Regions from separate parts of the Homo sapiens genome. Here region 1 is linked to region 2. The links are contacts of gene promoters, found by promoter capture Hi-C in human tissues and cell types (Jung and others, 2019). All regions are on one chromosome and are shown on one strand. Each heading gives the region's core, a stretch centred on a gene start or on the middle of the fragment in contact. The rest is flanking DNA. Distances are from core to core; before and after follow the strand shown.

The links. The method cuts DNA at HindIII sites, captures the fragments that hold promoters and counts their contacts. A contact is called where the count stands out against the background at its distance.
Region 1: a fragment that was not itself captured here is called in contact with the fragment with the promoter of GSTA3 in region 2 in 1 of the 25 tissues and cell types used here (aorta).

Annotation. Positions count from the first base shown.
Region 1 is chr6:52,960,584-52,965,303 of GRCh38, reverse strand. No RefSeq gene overlaps it. Among named protein-coding and RNA genes, the nearest start is that of GSTA4, 32 kb to the left of the region's middle. RefSeq lists a silencer at 3,066-3,266. The HindIII fragment of the contact is 4,080 bases long and covers 1,155-4,720 here.
Region 2 is chr6:52,907,679-52,912,209 of GRCh38, reverse strand. It overlaps GSTA3 (glutathione S-transferase alpha 3), which reads left to right and starts at 2,512. Exons shown (of 7, transcript NM_000847.5): 1 at 2,512-2,569. RefSeq lists enhancers at 1,622-2,315, 2,316-3,008. The HindIII fragment of the contact is 16,965 bases long and covers 1-4,531 here.

The sequences.
Region 1 (4,720 bases), core at 1,945-4,444, 52 kb before region 2:
CCCCGATACTGAACTTCAACAGTGCTGCTTTATCTTTTTTGTTTTGTTTTGTTTGAGATGGAGTTTCACTCTTGTTGTCCAGGCTGGATTGCAGTAGCGTGATCTTGGCTCACTGCAACCTCAGCCTACTGGGTTCAAGCGATTCTCCTGCCTCAGCCTGCCGAGTAGCTGGGATTACAGGCACACGCCACCACGCCCAGCTAATTTTGTTATTAGTAGAGACTGGGTTTCACCATGTTGGCCAGGTCTCGAACTCCTGACCTCAGGTGATCTGCCCGCCTCGGCCTCCCAAAGTGCTGGGATTACAGGCATGAGCCACTGCGCTGGGCCCAGTGCTGCTTTATCTTTCTCAGAAGGCAGCCAGGTGGAGACCGGGTTGGGGAGTGGGGGTCCTTTGAGTGAGGCATTGCTTGTCAATGGTCCAGTGACTTTTGATTTGCTGGTTGCCTGTCACCTGGTCAGTACCTGGAACATGGCCCATTTACAAGGTGACTTTGCCCATGCCAGAAGCCACTGGGTATGCTGTCCCGTGGTGCTTTTGGCATGTCTGTGAACTCCTTAGCCACCCCACTTTTGACCTCTAAAAGTGTGGTAACTCCTTTAGCATCCTGCTTGGGTCCCTGGTGGGGGCCAGGGAATTGATGAGTTCTCTTGTTAAGGAGAGATTAACAAGGCACAGTCTCTCCTCTCCCTCTCCTCATGTTTTCTCCACATTCATTTTATTGTAAGGTTCATGTTAAGGTTTGTTAGGATTGAGTCACTGAACCACCACGTGATTTCTCTCATCAGGGCATGTGGGTTAACAAAGTGCCTTTTTATCATGGTGTCTCCCAAGACAGTAAAGTGATAAATTTTTAGGAAGTTCCTGCAATTTTCAACATGCAATAGCTCAAGAGTCAATGTAAAAGGACTGAATTTTAATAGCAACTCAATACAGATGGTGCCCAGAGGGTGAAAAGACTGTGGCAAGAAAGGGCTAAGTTAACTTTCTTGGTATCAGACCTTGCTCTTGTTAATTGGACTCTACATGTGGCAACTAACCCACATTTCAGTGACACGACTATGCAATTTTTGCCAAGGGAAGAGTACACTTGTATAACGACTATAATTTTTTCTGTCTTTCCCAAATCACCTCAAAAACGTTTTTCTTCTAACCTACCTGATGCTGCCAAGACCAGCTCAGTCAGGGAGACCCTAACCCAGCAGCGCTAGAGGAATTAAAAACACACACACAAAAATATAGAGGTGTGGAGTGGAAAATCAGAGGTCTCACAGCCTTCAGAGCTGAGAGCCTTGAACAGAGATTTACCCACATGTTTATTGACAGCAAGCCAGTGATAAGCATTGTTTCTATGGATTATAGATTAACTAAAAGTATTCCTTACAGGAAACAAAAGGATGGGCCAAAATAAAGGGATGGGTTGGGCTAGTTATCTGCAGCTCCTTTACAATCAGCTACTTCTCCACTGCTCCATTAATACCTAAACTTTTTCACCTTTTGGAGGAACATTAGAACAGGCACAGATCGCTCATGCTATTGTTTGTGGTTTAAGAATGCCTTTAAGTGGTTTTCTGCCCTGGGTGGGCCAGGTGTTCCTTGCCCTCATTCCAGTAAGCCCACAACCTTCCAGTGTGGGCATCATGGCCATCATGAACATGTCACAGTGCTGCAGAGATTTTGCTTATGGCCAGTTTTGGGGCCAGTTTATGGCCAGATTTTGGGGGCCTATTGCCAACATGATGCAATGGTCCTAGGACTGGGGCTGCAACTAGAAGTGCTGGAAGCAGGGATTTCTAAGCAAGAAACTGTCAGTGTTTTTCAGACCTTGTGTCAGAATTCCTAAGGGCCTGTTGGGGAAGGATTGTGCCTTCATCCTGTCTAGCAAAAGTGGGGCTGAATGAATGCAGCTATATTGCCTGGTGATAGAAATAGCTCACTAGTTCTCCACCTATGGAACTGTACCCCACCTGAATGGCAGTGGACTGAGGAGGAGGTACTTGCTAGACTAGTATTGCTGCCTGCAATCTAGACCAGCACAGTGGCGGTTCTAATGTTCTTCCCAAAGGTGAAAAAGTTTAGGTATTAATGGAGCAGGGGAGAAGTAGCTGAGTGTAAAGGAATGAATAAATGGGTTATAAATGAAGGGAAATCCAACATTACATTAACACCTTGAAAGGGGCTCAGAGCAAGAGATGACATGTCTCTTAGCTCAATTATAACAGATGTCTGAAAGGGTGCAGCTATATGTTTGCTCCTGCTTTTGGAACTGATTGAAAGGAAATCTGCAAACCTGAGTGACCTCCCTCTGAAGACATTAATGAGAGGTGACAGCGTGCTGGCAGCCCTTGCTCACTCTCAGTGCCTTCTGCGCACACTCTGGCCATGCTTGAGGAGCCTTTCAGCCTGCTGCTGCACTGTGGGAGCACCTCTCTGGGCTGGCCGAGGCTGGAGCTGGCTCCCTCTGCTTGTGGGGAGGTGTGGAGGGAGAGGCATGGATGGGAACCAGGGCTGCGTGGTGCTCACTGGCCAGCATGAATTCTGGGTGGGTGCGGGCTCCCTGCCCCCCCCCCCCCACCCCATGGGCTCCTGTGCTGCCCGAGCCTCCCTGATGGGTGCTGCCCCCTGCTCCGCGGTGCCTGGTCCCATTGACCGCCTAAGGGCTGAGGGGTGCAGGTGCGTGGTGCAGGATTGGCAGGCACCTCCACCCACGTGGCCTCAGTGCAGGATCCACTGGGTGAAGCCAGCTGGGCTCCTGAATCTGCTGGGGACTTGGAGAATGTTTATGTCTAGCCAGAGGATTGTATACGCACCAATCAGCACTCTGTGTCTAGCTCGGGGTTCGTGGATGCACTAATCAGCACTCTGTATCTAGATAATCTGGTGGAGACTTGGAGGACTTTTATGTCTAGCTAAAGGATTGTGAATGCACCAGTCAGTGCTCTGTGTCTAGCTCAAGTTTGTAAATGCACCAATCAGCACCCTGTGTCTAGCTCAAGGTTTGTAAATGCACCAGTCAGTGCTCTGTGTCTAGCTCATCTAGTGGGGACTTGGAGAACTTTTGTGTCTAGCTAAAGGTTTGTAAACACACCAATCAGCACCCTGTCAAAATTGGCCAATCAGCTCCCTGTAAAATGGACCAATCAGCAGAATGTGGGTGGGGCCAGATAAGGGAATAAAAGCAGGCTGCCCCAGCCAGCAGTGGCCACCTGCTCAGGTCCCCTTCCACACTGTGGAAGCTTTGTTCTTTCACTCTTTGCAATAAATCTTGCTGCTGCTCACTCTTTGGCTCCACACTACCTTTATGAGCTGTAACACTCACTGTGAAGGCCTGCAGCTTCACTCCTGAGGCCAGCGAGACCACGACCCCACCAGGAGAAATGAACAACTCCAGACAGGAGGAACGAACAACTCCAGACGTGCTGCCTTAAGAGCTGTAACACTCACCACGAAGGTCTGCAGCTTCACTCCTGAAGCCAGCGAGACCATGAGCCCACCAGAAGGAACAAACTCCAAACACGTCCAAATATCAGAAGGAACAAACTCCAGACACGCCATCTTTAAGAACTGTAACGCTCACTGCAGGTGTCTGTGGCTTCATTCTTGAAGTCAGTGAGACCAAGAACCCACCAATTCCGGACACATTTTGGTGACCCAGAAGGGATTATTGCCTATCACCAAGCAGTAAGACTATCACCAAGTGGTGAGACCATTGCCTATTGTTAAGCGGTAAGACTGTCACCTATTGGCAAGCAGTGAGTACCATTGGACCCCTTTTGCTTGCTATTCTGTCCTATTTTTCCTTAGAATTTGGGGGCTAAATACCGGGCACCTGTTGGCCAGTTAAAGGTGACTAGCGCGGCCGCCGGCCTAAAGACACAGGTGTCAGGCTTTCTGGGAAAGGGCTCTCTAACAACCCCTGACTCTTCAGAGTTGGGAGCGTTGGTTTGCCTGGAACCGGCTTCTGCTTTTCCTGTACTTCTGGGCTGAGCTGAGAGTCAAGAGAGAGGAAAGCCATTCAGCTCCGGGGTCCTGACAACAAGTTGGCTGACCCTGCGGTCATGAGCGGAACTCTCAAAGGCGTGTCACCTAAGCGAGACTCGCCCATCTATCCTGTCTATCCTGACCCTTGCCCCCTGGGTCCTAATGCCTGCCAGACAAACTTCCTCTCTTCTCCGAGATTAGTCCCACTTCTAAAAATCGCTCCCTGTCTCTGGGGCTTTTCTAGTTTCTCCTATAAGAATGACTTCTAGTATAAACTCCAAGACTCTGTTAACTTCTTTAGGCACCCTGGCTCACCAATCAGAAAGACATAATTATTGCCCAAAGCCCTGTTGTAGGGGGGACTACCTGGAATTTTAGGATCCCTCCTCAGACTAACAGGCCTAACAAAAGCTATTCCTGAAGCTAGGATATGGGGAGCCCCAGAAATTGTATCCTTCCTATTCATATAAGTGAGGACAAAAGGTGTCACTATTCCAACCCTGGAGATCCCTTCCCTCCCTCAGGGTATGGCCCTCCACTTCATTTTTGGGGCATAACATCTTTATAGGACATGGGTAAGGTCCCAATACTAACAGGTGAATGCTTAGGACTCTAACAGGTTTTCAAGAATGCGTTGGTAAGTGTCACTAAATCCGATTTTTCTCAGCCCTCCTTGTGGTCTAGGAGGACAGGCAAGGGTGCAGGTTTTCGAGAATGCATCAGTAAGGGCCACTAAAT
Region 2 (4,531 bases), core at 1,263-3,762:
GGGGGGAAAAGAACTGACCTAAATAACCACAGAAAACCACAATTTTGACTGGATATTGTAAGGCTTAAGACCAAAAAAAAAAAAAAAAAAAAAAGAAGGAAAGAAAAATACTGTACTCTTGTTAGTAGATTTGTTTTTCACAGAGGTATGCATTGGCAATTCTGCAACTATTTTACTTGTACTAGGATTAAACAAATATGCAAATATTGTATATTTTAGATAATCATAGCCAGGTTTCTCACTTGTCAGAGAGGTTAGAAATGAAAGGACACGGCTAAATGAATCTATTGAATTGAAATAGTAGGTATCTGTATGAACTCATGGTTTTTTATCATATTTATACAGATAGCTATATAAATACATACAGAAGTGTATGTATGTGTGGGTTAATATACATACATATATTTCCCACTGGGGAGAGCCTAGAAGCATTGAAAACCCAGAAGCAATGAGTACACATAGTTCCGAGATCCTAGTTTTCAAATACCTTCCCCAATAAAAGGAAACAAGGATCTTTGGAGAAATGGTTGACTTCAAGGCTGGGACACAGACAAGACAAGATAAGCCTGGAACATCTTTGGCACAGAAAGTATCTGGAAATGCTCACAATAAGAGAGGAGGTTTGCCATAAAAGACACAGAAGCCAATCTGAAGGAGCTCCCACAGGCTAAAGGTGGATCAATTTGAGCAATAAAATAGATATCGATGGTATTAGATTGTAACCTTTAGAATAAAATATCTATAAATCTGTACTAAGAAAATAATTGAATGAATGGAAGGATAAATAAAGGAGAAGAGACAGCTTTTCTTTACAGAAGAATTCGAATTATTAAATGTAGATGGAATGAGGGAAATAGAAAGTCACTATTAGACAAACACTACAGTAATATTTGCTGCAGGCAAGATCCATAATGGATGCTAAAGTTAGTGAGCAGAAGCTTATTTTGAAACTGACTATTTTTATAGTCACAAAGTATCTTCCACAAGATATTTATGAATTCCAAAGGGATAAATAGTAATATTACGGTTGATGAACCTGGCAGACGCTACTTTAATCAAGGGATTAAGGTTAAGATCAAAATTAATAAGACATACCATGTCTCGGATATGAAATTATGGGTGGAAATGATCAGCTGAGACTGGAACAACTGCTGTGACATTTTGCAAAAAATGTATGTCGTCAATCGAGTCATGAGAAAACATCAGATAGACCCAAATTGAGGTACATTCCACAAAATAATTGACCATTACTCTTCAAAAATGCCACCATCATGAAAGACAAGAAAAGACTGAGGAACTGCCATAGTTTGGAGGTAACTAAGGAGATGTGACAACGAAATGCAGTGCTGGGGTCCTGGATGGGATCCTGGGTTAGAAAAAAGATACTGATTGAAAAACTGGTGAAATTCAAGTAAGGCCTGGAGTTTAGTCAATAGTGTATCAACATTAAATTCCTGGATTCAATCATTGTACTATGGTTACATAAGATGTTAACATTAGCGGATGCTGGGTGAGGGGTATTTGGGAAACTTGTACTAGTTTTGCAATTTTTCTGTTACATAAATAACTCCCCCACCCACAAGTTTAAAAGATACAGATTAGATTATAGAGGAAAAAAACTAAGTCTGAGATTTGCTTCAAATATTGTCAATAATTTTTGAAGCAAGGTGATGGGTACATCAAGGCTTTGTAGTGTTCTTTCCAGATTTATGTATATCAGACAATTTCCTTTAGAAAAGTAGAAATTACATATACGTGTATTAAGCCCTTTCTATGTCCAGGCACTGTGGTTAGCCACGGGGACTTGGTTAACCACCAGGACTTGAGGCCCTGCCTCAAGGAGCTCATACTCAACAGGGGGAAAGCAGACATGATGCACGGAATGTAGAAAGAGTGATGTGATAGAGGAAGCACAGGATGCCTTGGAGCAGGGGAGAAAAGAGTGCTCCAAATAGGAGAAACAGCATGCAGAGCCTTGGGCTAGGGAGAAAGGCTAACTGGTAAGTCACAGAGAAAAATCTGCAAATGACCTCGGGGAATGCAGCTGAGGTCTTTTGTCTGCCCAGGGCAAGGACAACTCAGCCAGATTCTTTGGGCCTATAAAATTTTGTGACATTATTTGTAATTTAGTCTTTTTAAACAAATTTAGAAGGCAATCTCCCTATGCTCTTTATCAAGTCCCCTTTCCTGACATCTCCTATGACTCTCCTATGACACTTTCCTCCTCTCCCCACAATGTTTTCTCATCTGTCATAAATCTGCAGCCTATTTAACAAGATCCTCCTTAAGCAGTGTTCACAGGATACTTGGTCCCCAGTGACCTTCTGAGGCAGCCAAATAGATATGAAATCTTTTTGTGCATTTATGGATAGCCTTGAAATTAATTGCTGTCATTTTCTTCCTAGCAGATCATGGAACTCTGGAGACTAAAGTGGTGTGGGAGTGGCTGCTCCCAACTAGACTCCACCCCCTTCAGAAGGCAGGAGTTGTCATAGTATTAAAACAGCTAACATACACATCAGGAGGTGGCCTTGAGAAGCTGAGCGGAGACCGGCTAGACTTTACTCAAGTTAGTATTGACCTTAAACATCTTCATAAATGTTCTCATGTCTACTTCACTAAGAAAAACAAATTTAAATGTGTTAGTTTGTGTGAGTACTTTATGTTCTTGCTGTTTTTCTGTGTGCTTAGGAGACAATTTAAGCATTGTTTGTTAGTTCCTGAAGGACAGGTCGGTAAAGAAAAATAATATTCAACAATTTAGAAAACAAGGGCAAAGAATTTGATGATATGAGAAAAGTAAGAGTGGTATCATTGTGGGCAATCTGAAAATACAACCACATCAGTGCCAGGCCACATGCCAAAGGTTGCTTATGGAAAAGCTGTTTATTAAAAACATGTATTCGTGTGATTCATTCCTGTGATTCACAGGAGTCAACACACAATTATACTAGATTTAAAGCTGGCAGGGTCACACATTTGGGAGCACCACTTGATCAATGAAAAGAAAATACATCTGGATGGTCGTATTCCTCTAGAGCTGGCACTTCCAAATGGGAAACCAATCACCAATGCTTGACAATCAGGATCTAAATTTACACTTCCATCATTGATTTTACACAGATTAGTTTACTGCTTATATAAGTGACTTTGTGATTGAGCACCAAGCAGCATGCTATTTTTCCTTCTTCTTCTCCTCCTTCTTCCCTCCTTCTCTTTGTTCTCTTTGCCCTCTTTCTTCTTCCTCCTCCTCTTTTTCCTCTTCTGCCTCTTCTTCCTCCTCCTCCTTCTTGTTCGAAGTATCTGGGACCAAAGGGTGAGCAGGGTTTAAAGTCTCAAAATTGCAAGTGAATCTAAATATATAGGACTTTTAGGGTAGTAGGCAAGTAGATCTAAGAATAATAATAACCCCCTCTTAAGCTGTTATATTCCCTGTCCAACAGAACATGCACATTCCTTCTATATGCAAGTTCTTTCTATTTGCCAAATGAAATATTACCCTGGGCTACCCTGCCAAAGCACTTATCCAATTAAAAAAAAATATTTTTTGTGTAGTCACGATGTTTCTACTATGTGGGAGAGTTTGGTTGCTTTGATAATTCTTTTTAAACAGCAGATTGGTGGGTTTCATAATTAGGATTGGTTATTTTATTGCCATAATCCTAGCTTGGCTTTTTTCATGCTTTTTGTTTGTTTTGAGACAGTCTCATTCTGTCACCCAGGCTGGAATGCAGTGATGTGGCCATGTTTCACTGCAGCCTTAACATCTTGGGCTCAAGTGATCTTCCTGCCTCAGCCTCCTGGGTATCTGGGACTACAGGTGTGGGACACCAATCCTGGCTAATTTTTTTTTTAAATAGAGACTTTATTTAATTGCCCAGGCCAGTCCTGAACTCCTGAGCTCAAGCAATCTTCCCTCCTCAGCCTTCCGAAGTGCTGGGATTATAAGTATGAGCCACCATGCCCAGCCCTAGTTTGTTTTTTAATTACTCTATGCTACTGTAGTCTAAAACAGTGAGCGCTATAGGCAAATGGCAAAAAAAAAAAAAAAAAGATTGCTCTTGAGATATCTAGCCATGTTATATCCTATAAAGCACGGACTGAACTTTGAGCAATGCACTACACTGTGCTTAAAGACTATGACAACTTCTCTGCTTCCCGGGAGCTCACAGTTTGAGGGGTGGGGGACATAAAAATGGTAACTTCTTTTTTTTTTAATTTATTTATTTATTATTATTATACTTTAAGTTGTAGGGTACATGTGCACAATGTGCAGGTTCGTTACATATGCATACATGTGCCATGCTGGTGTGCTGCACCCACCAACTCATCATCCAGCACTAGGTATATCTCCCAATGCTATCCCTCCCCCCTCCCCCCACCCCACAACAGTCCCCAGAGTGTGATATTCCCCTTCCTGTGTCCAAGTGTTCTCATTGTTCAATTCCCACCTATGAGTGAGAACATGCGGTGTTTGGTTTTTTTGTCCTTGCGATAGTTTGCTGAGAATGATAGTTTCCAGCTTCATCCA